3 separate regions of the Homo sapiens genome follow, and all the other regions are linked to region 2. Evidence: promoter capture Hi-C in 16 types of primary human blood cells and fetal thymus (Javierre and others, 2016). All regions are on one chromosome and are shown on one strand. Each heading gives the region's core, a stretch centred on a gene start or on the middle of the fragment in contact. The rest is flanking DNA. Distances are from core to core; before and after follow the strand shown. Region 1 has its middle 3.3 kb from the start of DCK. Region 2 holds the start of YTHDC1 (YTH N6-methyladenosine RNA binding protein C1). Region 3 overlaps GRSF1 (G-rich RNA sequence binding factor 1).

What was found. Contacts are between HindIII fragments. The CHiCAGO score rates a contact against its expected background, and 5 or more counts as called.
Region 1: a fragment that was not itself captured here is called in contact with the fragment with the promoter of YTHDC1 in region 2 in 1 of 17 cell types (total B cells); the score reaches 6.0 in total B cells.
Region 3: a fragment that was not itself captured here is called in contact with the fragment with the promoter of YTHDC1 in region 2 in 1 of 17 cell types (total CD8 T cells); the score reaches 6.3 in total CD8 T cells.

What each region holds. Positions count from the first base shown.
Region 1 is chr4:70,988,574-70,992,105 of GRCh38, forward strand. No RefSeq gene overlaps it. Among named protein-coding and RNA genes, the nearest start is that of DCK, 3.3 kb to the right of the region's middle. The HindIII fragment of the contact is 1,907 bases long and covers 1,330-3,236 here.
Region 2 is chr4:68,348,622-68,351,669 of GRCh38, forward strand. It overlaps YTHDC1 (YTH N6-methyladenosine RNA binding protein C1), which reads right to left and starts at 1,469. Exons shown (of 17, transcript NM_001031732.4): 1 at 1,105-1,469. The coding sequence starts at 1,132. RefSeq lists an enhancer at 838-1,417. The HindIII fragment of the contact is 7,711 bases long and covers 1-3,048 here.
Region 3 is chr4:70,829,268-70,832,575 of GRCh38, forward strand. GRSF1 (G-rich RNA sequence binding factor 1) reads right to left here. Exons shown (of 10, transcript NM_002092.4): 4 at 3,040-3,183; 5 at 2,272-2,407. Among named protein-coding and RNA genes, the nearest start is that of GRSF1, 9.0 kb to the right of the region's middle. The HindIII fragment of the contact is 4,925 bases long and covers 1-3,308 here.

The DNA.
Region 1 (3,532 bases), core at 1,033-3,532, 2.6 Mb after region 2:
AAGGAATATTAATAATATTGGAGAATCATTTACCAAGTTCCAAAAGGAAATGTGTATTTTATTTTATTTTATTTATGAGACGGAGTCTTGCTCTGTTGCCCAGGCTGGAGTGCAATGGCACGACCTCAGCTCACTGCAACTTCCACCTCCTGGGTTCAAGTGATTCTCCTGCCTCAGCCTCCCAAGTAGCTGGGATTACAGGCATATGCCACTATGTCCGGCTAATTTTTTGTATTTTTAGTAGAGACAGGGTTTCACCATGTTGGCCAGGCTGGTCTCAAAACTCCTGACCTAAGGTGACCCATGAGCTTTGGCTTCCCAAAGTGCTGGGATTATAGGCGTGAGCCATCGCGCCTGGCCAAAACGTGTATTTTAGAAGTCTTCTCAGAGTATCAGAAGTATTTATGTTAGAGGCATTTGTGTTTGAATCTTCAGGTTAAGAATATTTAATGGTAGTAGCCACAGTTGCTCAAAGTCACTAATGGTATTTGGGAGAAAGACTAGTTGAAATGCTAGCCAATGCTGTTGTGGACTGTGTCTGCATGCTTTAAAAACGCCCTGTGGGCCGGGCGCGGTGGCTCACGCCTGTAATCCCAGCACTTAGGGAGGCCGAGGTGGGCGGATCACGAGCTCAGGAGTTGAGACCTGCCTGGCCAATGTGGGGAAACCCCATCTCTACTAAAAAATACATTAAAAAATTAGCCGGGCACGGTGGCGCTTGCCTGTTGTCCCAGTTACTCGGGAGGCTGAGGCAGGAGAATTGCTTGAATCCGAGAGGCGGACTGTGCCACTGCACTCCAGCCTGGGCGACAGAGCAAGACTCCGTCTCAAAAAATAAAAAAATAAAAACACTCTGTTATTCATTTATTGTGTGTAAAGAAATATATATTGTAAAATTACCTACATTTTGATAATTAGGTTCATTTACCTCTGTTGTACTAAATGTATTATAAGTTGTTAATCCCTTATATAACATCTGCAATGAGCATTTTGCAACACAAAGATTCTAATTAATTATTCCTCTAAGGTTTAAACAACCATGTTTAGTAGAAGTTTTACTAAGAAATTGTACATGCTCCTGTTACAGCATGATGAATACAGTGTCACATTTTCTTGATGACCTCAGTCCACTTCACAAGCATGTAGTAAAACAGCTTTCTTTGCTAAGCTGTATACATCTGATGGCTCCTATGCTCTTCTAGTATGTTATTTTGCTTTCAGATTTCAGATTTGCAGGAAGCACACTGACTCCCACTCTTGCATTTATGATGGCTTCTGTACCCCGTTTTCTAGGCACTAATGAAGATTACAAGGGGAAATTTATAACCAAGCTTATTAAGTTGATAAATATCATTTTACAGAAGTAGTTGAGTTTGTGTAGACAAACTCATGGGCTGTGTAACCACTACTTAATGTTCAGGGTCTCTTATTTTTTCTGCTTTTTATTATTTTCTGGGTTGATTTAGTTTTCCTAATAAACCTGTATGTTGTCAGTCAGAACGCTGTCTCATTCTTTAGTTACACTAGAATTCCCACAGGAGAAAATTCCCAAATTGAAGGAGTAGTAAAATTTCTGGTAAGAAAGGATTAGGTGGCAGCACGATCATGACTGGCTGGGTGCGCTGTATCCTGTCTCTTATCTGCAGTTTCAAAACCTGAAAAGCTCAGAAAACCAAAATTTTTTTGTTTGTTTTTTTGAGACGGGGTCTCACTCTCATCCAGGCTGGAGTGCAGTGGCATGATCTTGGCTTAATGCAACTTCCGCCTCCCGGGTGCAAGCGATTCTCCAGCTTCAGCCTCCCGAGTAGCTGGGACCACAGGCACACACCACCACGCCCGGCTAGTTTTTGTATCTTTAGTAGAGACAGGGTTTCGCCATGTTGGCCAGGTTGGTCTCGAACTCCTGAACTCAGGTAATCTGTCCATCTCGGCCTCCCACAGTGTTGGGATTACAGGCGTGAGCCACCGTGCTTGGCCCCAAAGGTATTTTTTTTGAATTCAGTGCAAACTTATTCTGACCAGATGTTAATAGTCTTTATCCCACTTCATGTTAACACTCTTTGTTTCACTGCAAAATATTAGTGCATTTGATTTAACACCTCTGCAGGGGGAGTGGGGGTGCTTACTTAATAATTAATATACAGTATATGCACTGTATCGTTTCTAAAGTTTCGATTCCAAATTTTATTATTGAGACGGGGTCTTGCTGCTGTGTCACTCAGGCTGGCATGCAGTGGCGCGATCATAGCTTACTAAAGCTAAAACTTTGCAGGCCCAAACCATCCTCCCACCTCAGCCTCCTGAGTAGCTGGGACCACAGGTGTGTGCCACCACAACCAGCTAATTTTTGTATTTTTTCTATTAGTTTCGCCATGTTTCCCTGGTTGGTCTCGAATTCCTGAGCTCAAGCATTCCAGAGTACCTCCCAAAGTGCTGGGATTATAGGCAAGAGCCACTGCGTCCAGCCAGTTCCAAAGTTTAGAATTTCTTTTCTAAAAATCTTTTCTAAAAGTTTTAAATTCTGAAACATCTGGCTGCCAGGGTTTTAGATAAGAGATTGTGGACCAAAAATCAAGATGTTTTGAAAAGTGCTTTTCTCTGTTCTCTCCTTGTGTTACCCCCAGGTCATGTAGGAAAATGGGAAATTATGCTGGACTTAATGCCAAAAAAGCTAGATTCTTTGCTTCCCCCATTTACTTTGTTGTTGTTAGTTGAGACAGGATCTCACTGGAGTACAGTGGCATGATCTTGGCTCACTGCAGCCTTGACTCCCTGGCTTCGGTAATTCTCCCACCTCAGCCTCCCAAATAGTTGGGACTACAGGCGCCTGGCTAATTTTTCTATTTTTTGTAGAGACAAGAGTTTTGCCATGTTGCCCAGGCTAGTCTCAAACTCCTGGGCTCAAGCGATTCACCTGCCTCGGCCTCCCACATTTGTATTTTTCAAAGTATACTCTTAAGCTCAGATGAATTCAAGTTTTTGCAGCCAGAAACTGGTAGAACTGGTGTTTGAAATCTTTCATTTTCCAGTGCTTAAACTCTTCATCATTGTAAGATACTTCTTGTGTGGGTCTTTTTTGTGGAAACCACACTTGGAGATTTCTACTCCTTAACCCCAAGCCTCTTTATGACATCCATCCAGGACCAGCTCTGCTTTCCTGTTGAAGGTCTCAAGAGACTTGCCTTCCTCCTCTCGGTAGCTGCCAGTACTCTTACCATTTCATGAGTTTTCCCCCAAGCTTGGCTGTGAAATGTGATACCTATTAGCTTCCGCAGCACCTTTCTCCCAACTTCCTTGCTATACCTGATGACAACTCTTCAGGCCTCTTATATTCCTAGGATCTTGCTATTAATCACTATAGGGATAAGTAAAAGTAATATATACAAAATAATTGCATAACAGAATAATATAGGGCAGTTACATAGAATGATTCTTGCTGTTTAATCCTGGAAAATGTGATCCCCGAGGATTCACATTTTAATTTCTGCTCTTTATTTCTGAGGATGGAGTCACCGTTTTCCCCTTCTGGCTA
Region 2 (3,048 bases), core at 219-2,718:
GTCCCTAACCTAGGGCAGTTCATTGAAGCATGAAGACTCTCCTGATGCAGAAACCAGAAAAATTAAGAAAAAAGGATTACACGCCTAATGTAACTTGACTCTAGAGCCCACTTAACAACCCCCGACAAAAAAACCCCAAATCAATTAGGCACACAGAAGAGATGTGTGAGACACAGAGCAGCGACCGTGTCATATTTTTAACTATAATCTTTCCAAGACTATTATGTTAATCTTAGGGTTGAAAAAGATCTTAAAGCAGCATTTAATCTAGACCACTCTCCAGAGAGACACTGATCTAGGACCTACATTAATATCTCTAGGGCTTGGGAACTTAGTATTACTATCTTTCCATTACAGCAACGTCAGTTCTCTCTACATTTCACTGAAATTTATCCCTCCAACTCTCTGTAACTTGCATTCATTTGTTTCTGACTGTACCCTCTGGGAGCTACACACGGTTTTTCTAACATAATAGCACCCAGGATTTCTTTGCCAGCCTAAGTCACACAGTCATCTTTCCAAACTAAGTATTCCTTTTTCCAAGTACTATGTTTTTCCAAAATAAGTATTCGAGGAACAAAACGGGTAATTCACTTTGCCTATTTAACAGGAACAGCCAGAAGTTATTTGCAGATATTTCTCAAGATTAATAACCTGCCAGTGCCACTTCCTAAACTTGCTCACTTACCACACCACCAGTGTTGATCGCGGCATTAGGGGTTTTCAAATTTTAGCCTAACAGAAATGGTTGTCCTGAAAATACGCGTTACATCCGCATGATCCTACCAGGAAATAAACCTAGGAGCTTGCAACTCAGAAAGGGCCCCTCTCAGCCCAAGACAGCTAAACGGAAAGTCAAGCGTGAAATCCGCATCAAAGAAAAACCCTACTGAGATGAAGTGCTAGGCCATATGGAGACTGAGGACGAAAGGGCAGGCCTGGTCTCCGCCAGAGTCTAAGTGTCTCGGTGGGGGCCACCGGCTCCTCGCGAGGCCAGCTAACCTCCCCAACCCCCACCCCCCACCCCCAACGACGACCACTGCTCCATCACCCCACTCCCGGGCCCCAGCCTCGCCTCGGCCCGTCATCTTTCTCCGCACTAACCTTTCTCCTCCCGACTGTCAGCCGCCATGGCTCCCCTTCGGTTTCCGCCGCTGCCACCGCCGCCGCCGCTTAGACGCGACTCGCGCGGGCGCCGCAGCCGCGGCAGAAGCACGGGCCCGTCCGTCAGTCCGTCTGCCCGGATACGCGCGTCGCACTTGGCCTCTTAACACTCAGCCTTCTCGACTCTTCCCGCTTTTTCCCTTTCTCCCTTCCTTTCACTCCAGCATCCAGCGGCCTAGGCCCAGCCTTCTCGTTAGGGCTCAGACTCGGGCTAGGTATGGGGGAGGGAAGGGAAACAGATGGCGACGGCGGGCGGCGCTAAAATGGAGCCTGCTTCCTGCGCGAAACAATCCCGCTCCCGAAATGCCCTGCGCTGTTTACGCTTCGTTCCTCTCTGGGAACGTCACAGTGCGGAGAGGGGCGGGGAGGCGGGGACGTGCAAAGGAACGTGACGTGACGTCAGCGCGTCGCCCTGCCGCCCTCAGCCCACTGGTACCTGGAAGGAGTCTTATTCAGGGATTAGGTTACCCAGGTTGTTCATGGAGTTCCCGCTGTACGGCCTATAACTGGATGGCGCAATTTTCCCACCTGAAACTCTTAGTGCAGGGCCTAACAGGCCTTCTTAGCTAGAGTCGCTCTAAAGGACTCCTGATTCAGTTCGGGTAATCGGAGTCTTATTTAGGACAAGTCTGGGTGAATCCCTTATGTTTACCAGATGTACTTTCTTAGTTGGAGTTCCACTCTTACCCAAAGGCAGTGCAGCATGCAACCAGCTTGTTTGTAGTCACAAAAGCCTGCTAGTTTTTGTTTGTTTTGAGACGGAGTCTCGCTCTGTCGCTAGGTTGGAGTGCAGCAGCGCGATCTCGGCTCACCGCAACCTCCGCCTCCCAGGTTCAAGCGATTCTCCTGGCTCTGCCTCCTGAGTAGCTGGGACTACAGGCGCCCGCCACCACGCCCAGTTAATTTTTTTATTTTTAGTAGAGACGGGATTTCACCATGTTGGCCAGGATGAAGTGCTGGGATTACAGGCGTGAGCTACCACGCCCGGCCTAGTTTTGTTTTTAATTGGGGAAAGAATTGTATCATAATAGGTCTTTGTAATTAATAACTAATTTAAACATGTTATCAAGGCCCTGGGGCACAAAATTGATTTAAGCAGACCATCGAGGAATCGAAACTACAGAATAAATGACCAGTAGATACATAACTACATAGTGTGGTAAAATCTGCAAGAGAAACTTGCTTAAGATTCATTGTCCAACGGAAACAATCTAATTTTGCTTCCTTGAACTATAACTGAGTTATAAGGGAAAGAAAAATCTGAAAAAGGTAACTAAGTAACTTCGTGATATGAAGACAAACTGGCAAACTAACTGCATATTCAGGGAAAGACAAGTAGTCTAGAAGTCTAGAATGTGGTACCTCTTTTTTTTTGAGACGTGGTCTCACTGTGACACAGGCTGGAGTGCAGTGGTGTGATCATGGCTCACTGCAACCTTGGGCTCAAGTGATCCTCCCACCTTAACCTCCCAGGTAGCTGGAACTACAGGCATGCTCCACCACATCCGACACATTTTTTGCATTTTTTGTGGAGATATACCATCTCCGCAAGATGGCTAACACCTAGCCATCTTGCCCAGGCTAGTGTCTAAATCCTGGGCTCCAGCAATCCTCCCACCTCGGCCTCCCAAAGTGCGGGATTACAGGTGTGAAGCCACCAGGAGTGGCCCCATTTCTAGGACCTTAATTGAACACTAATTTGAATATACGAACACGCACACGCCACAAACACACACACACACACACATTAAATAATATCTGATGATCCTGAGGAATTGCTATTTGTATTTTTAGTTTTAATAAGTTTTGCTTTTTAAAGAATTTCTTATAATTTCATGATTCATATGAAAATATTTGCAGGCCAGATGCAGTGGCTCATACCTG
Region 3 (3,308 bases), core at 506-3,005, 2.5 Mb after region 2:
AGATGAGCACTACTTCTTTAAAAAAAAAACCTTTGAGCCTGGACAACAAAGTGAGACACCATCTCTACAAAAGTTTTTTTTTGTTTTTTTTTTTAATTAGCCAGGAGACCAGGTACAGTGGCTCACACCTATAATCCCAGTACTTTGGGAGGCTGAGGCAGGTGGATCACTTGAGCTCAGGAGTGTGAGACCAGCTTGGGCAACATGCAAAACCCCGTCTCTACAAAAATACAAAAATTAGCTGGGTGTGGTGGCATGTATCTGTAGTCCCAGCTACTTGGGAGGCTGAAGTGGGAGGATTGCTTGAGCCCAGGAGGCCACAACTGCAGTGAGCTGTATCACACAACTGCACTCCAGCGAGGGTAACAGAATAAGACTCTGTCTAAAATTAGCCAGGCATGGTGATGCATGCCTGTGGTACCAGCTACAAGGAAAGCTGAGATGGCAGGACTGCTTGAGCCCAGAAGGTCAAGGCTGAAATGAGCAGTGTTTGTGGCACTGCACTTCAGCCTGGGTGACAGAGCAAGATCCTGTCTCAAAAAACCAAAAAACCTTTGAACCACTTCTATCAGTAGATCCTGAAACACTGGCTTTGGAATGGCTGTTTTGTTTACTTCAAAGGAGCTGATTTAAAAGGCCAGAAAACAGTAAAAAAAAAAATTAACGAAACAGTGATTTAACATTTGACATTTTAAACTGTACCTCCAAAGTTAAAGTTAAAACACAAATGAACCCACTTATCATCATGTGCATCCTGAGGTGATGTCAACATGAGATACTGTACAAGACAACTGATCTAATTTCTTCAAAAGTCAATTGCTTTTAAAAAGGGGGGAAGAATAAGTAAGGGGGATTTGCTCTAGTTCAAGAGAATCAGTGGTCAGGTGCAGTGGCTCACACCTGTAATCCTAGCGTTTTGGGAAGCCAAAGCGGGCGATCACTTGAGCCCATGAGTTTGAGGCCAGCCAGGGCAACACAGCAAGACCCCACCTACAAACACACACGCACGCACGCACACACACATACACACAGCCAGGTGTGGCGGCACATGCCTATTGTTCTAGCTAGTTGGGAGGATGAGGCGAGACGATTGCTTGAGCCCAGGAATTCAAGGCTGTAGTGAGCTATCATCATGCCACTGCACTCCAGCCTGGGTGACAGAATAAGACCCTGTGTCTTAAAAAAAAAAAAAAAACACACACACACACAGAGAATTATGGACATAACAATCAAATGCAGTGTGTAGACCTTATCTGGATTCTGTATTTTTGTCCGGTGTGCTGGCTCACACCTGTAATCCCAGCACTTTTGGAGGCCGAGGTGGGTGAATGACTTGAGTCCGGGAGTTCTAGACCAGCCTGGCCAACATGGTAAAACCTTGTCTCTACTAAAAATACAAAACTTAGCTGGGCATGGTGGCGCATGCCTCTAGTTCCAGCTACTCAGGAGGCTGAGGCAGGAGGATCACATGAAACTGGGAGGCAGAGAGAGGATGCAGTGAGCCAAGATCACACCACCGCACTCCAGCCTAGGCGGCAGAGTGAAACTCCGTTGCCAAAAAAAAAAAGGCTATTTTTGGTATAATTGGGAAAATGCTATTATGAACTGTTATTAGATAATATACTATTGCTAACAGTGTTAGATATAACATTGAAATTATGTAAAAAAATTTTTTTAAAAGATGCATACTAAAAAAAACCCAGATGAAGCAAATATAACAGATGTTACATTTTATATATAAATGTGTTAATCTAGCTGCTCTAGGTACTCTGTCTATGGGTTAGTCCCTGCCCCACAAGGAGCAGTCAAGCCGGATGCGGTGGCTCACGCCTGTAATCCCAGCACTTTGGGAGGCCGAGGCGGGCGGATCACAAGGTCGAGAGATCGAGACCACCCTGGCCAACATGGTGAAACCCCGTCTCTACTAAAAATACAAAAAAAGCCGGGCATGGTGGCAGGCGCCTGTAATCCCAGCTACTTGGGAGGCTGAGGCAGGAGAATCGCTTAAACCAGGGAGGCAGAGGTTGCAGTGAGCCAAGATCGTGCCATTGCACTCTAGCCTAGGCAAAAAGAGTGAAACTCTGTCTCAAAAAAAAAAAAAAGGAGCAGTCGAAAAAAAATTGTTAATCTAAATTATGGGCATTTGATGGCTCACTACACTACTCTCTCTACTTTTCTATGTTTGGATAACTTTTCAGTCATATTACAGCACATTCATCAAAATGACTTAATGTGTAACACTTCTGCATCATTAGTATCTGCTTTACTCACCGATTACCAATTTCTTCCCTGTGTTTCAACAGGGCTTGGTTGGCCATTTCTGGTTCTTCAAATTGCACATAGGCTTCCCCTGTTTTTCGCCTCCCTCTATAGTCCATCACAAAAGTAATGTCAACTATATTCAGTCCTAGGACACCAAGAGATTTTAATGCTACTAGCAGGCTTTTTTATCCTTAGAATTAACACCATCATTCACATACTAATAAAATTTTTATTCTGTTTTGCCAGTCCCAAAACTGAATACATGCTTGACAGGAAGAAAATTATTATGCAGTCAAAAGTCAGTCAACACCTACATACTTGTATTTCCAGAATAGGTAAGGTCCAAGAAGCCCACCCAAAACATACAATTCTCCCCACCAGTTTTTTTTTTTTTTTTTGCTGTTAATTATATACTAGGAAACAATAGAAATCACAGACTTCACTGCTAATGGTTCTAGGAATTAGAAAATACTTTTAAATTATATAAATTGTTATTGTCTTACACAAATACAGCAACTATTATGAGAAGTTATTTCCTTCAATAGTAAAACCCTCATGAAATTATTCTGAAATCTGACTTCCCTCCTAAAATCTGCCTGATAGAACAAAAACACATATAAAATCTATAAATATTAGAAATTTAAGTGAAGAGCTCTCCCCTAAAGAACCTAATATAACTGCATGCCTTTGCCCAGAAACAGGCTCATCTAAGATATAGAAGGAGATACCAAGGGAAAAAAGATATGAGCTCCCAAGCATAATACAACTGCAAAGTACCTGCAAAGAAGTCTACAATGTCTTTCTCATTGCAACTATAAGGAAGTCCTCTCAAACGAACCACACCATCATTTACCACAGGCGAAGATTTGACCTGCAAGCTCTTCATTAAGGCATCCACATCTTCATTGTTTATCTCATATACTACGAAGAAAAAACCCAACAGGGATGAAAAATTTACATAACAAAGGAACAAACCCATTAAAAAAAATCATTACAACTTGCTGGGTTATCTGAGAATTCAATAACTATTTTAATCTTTATGCGCT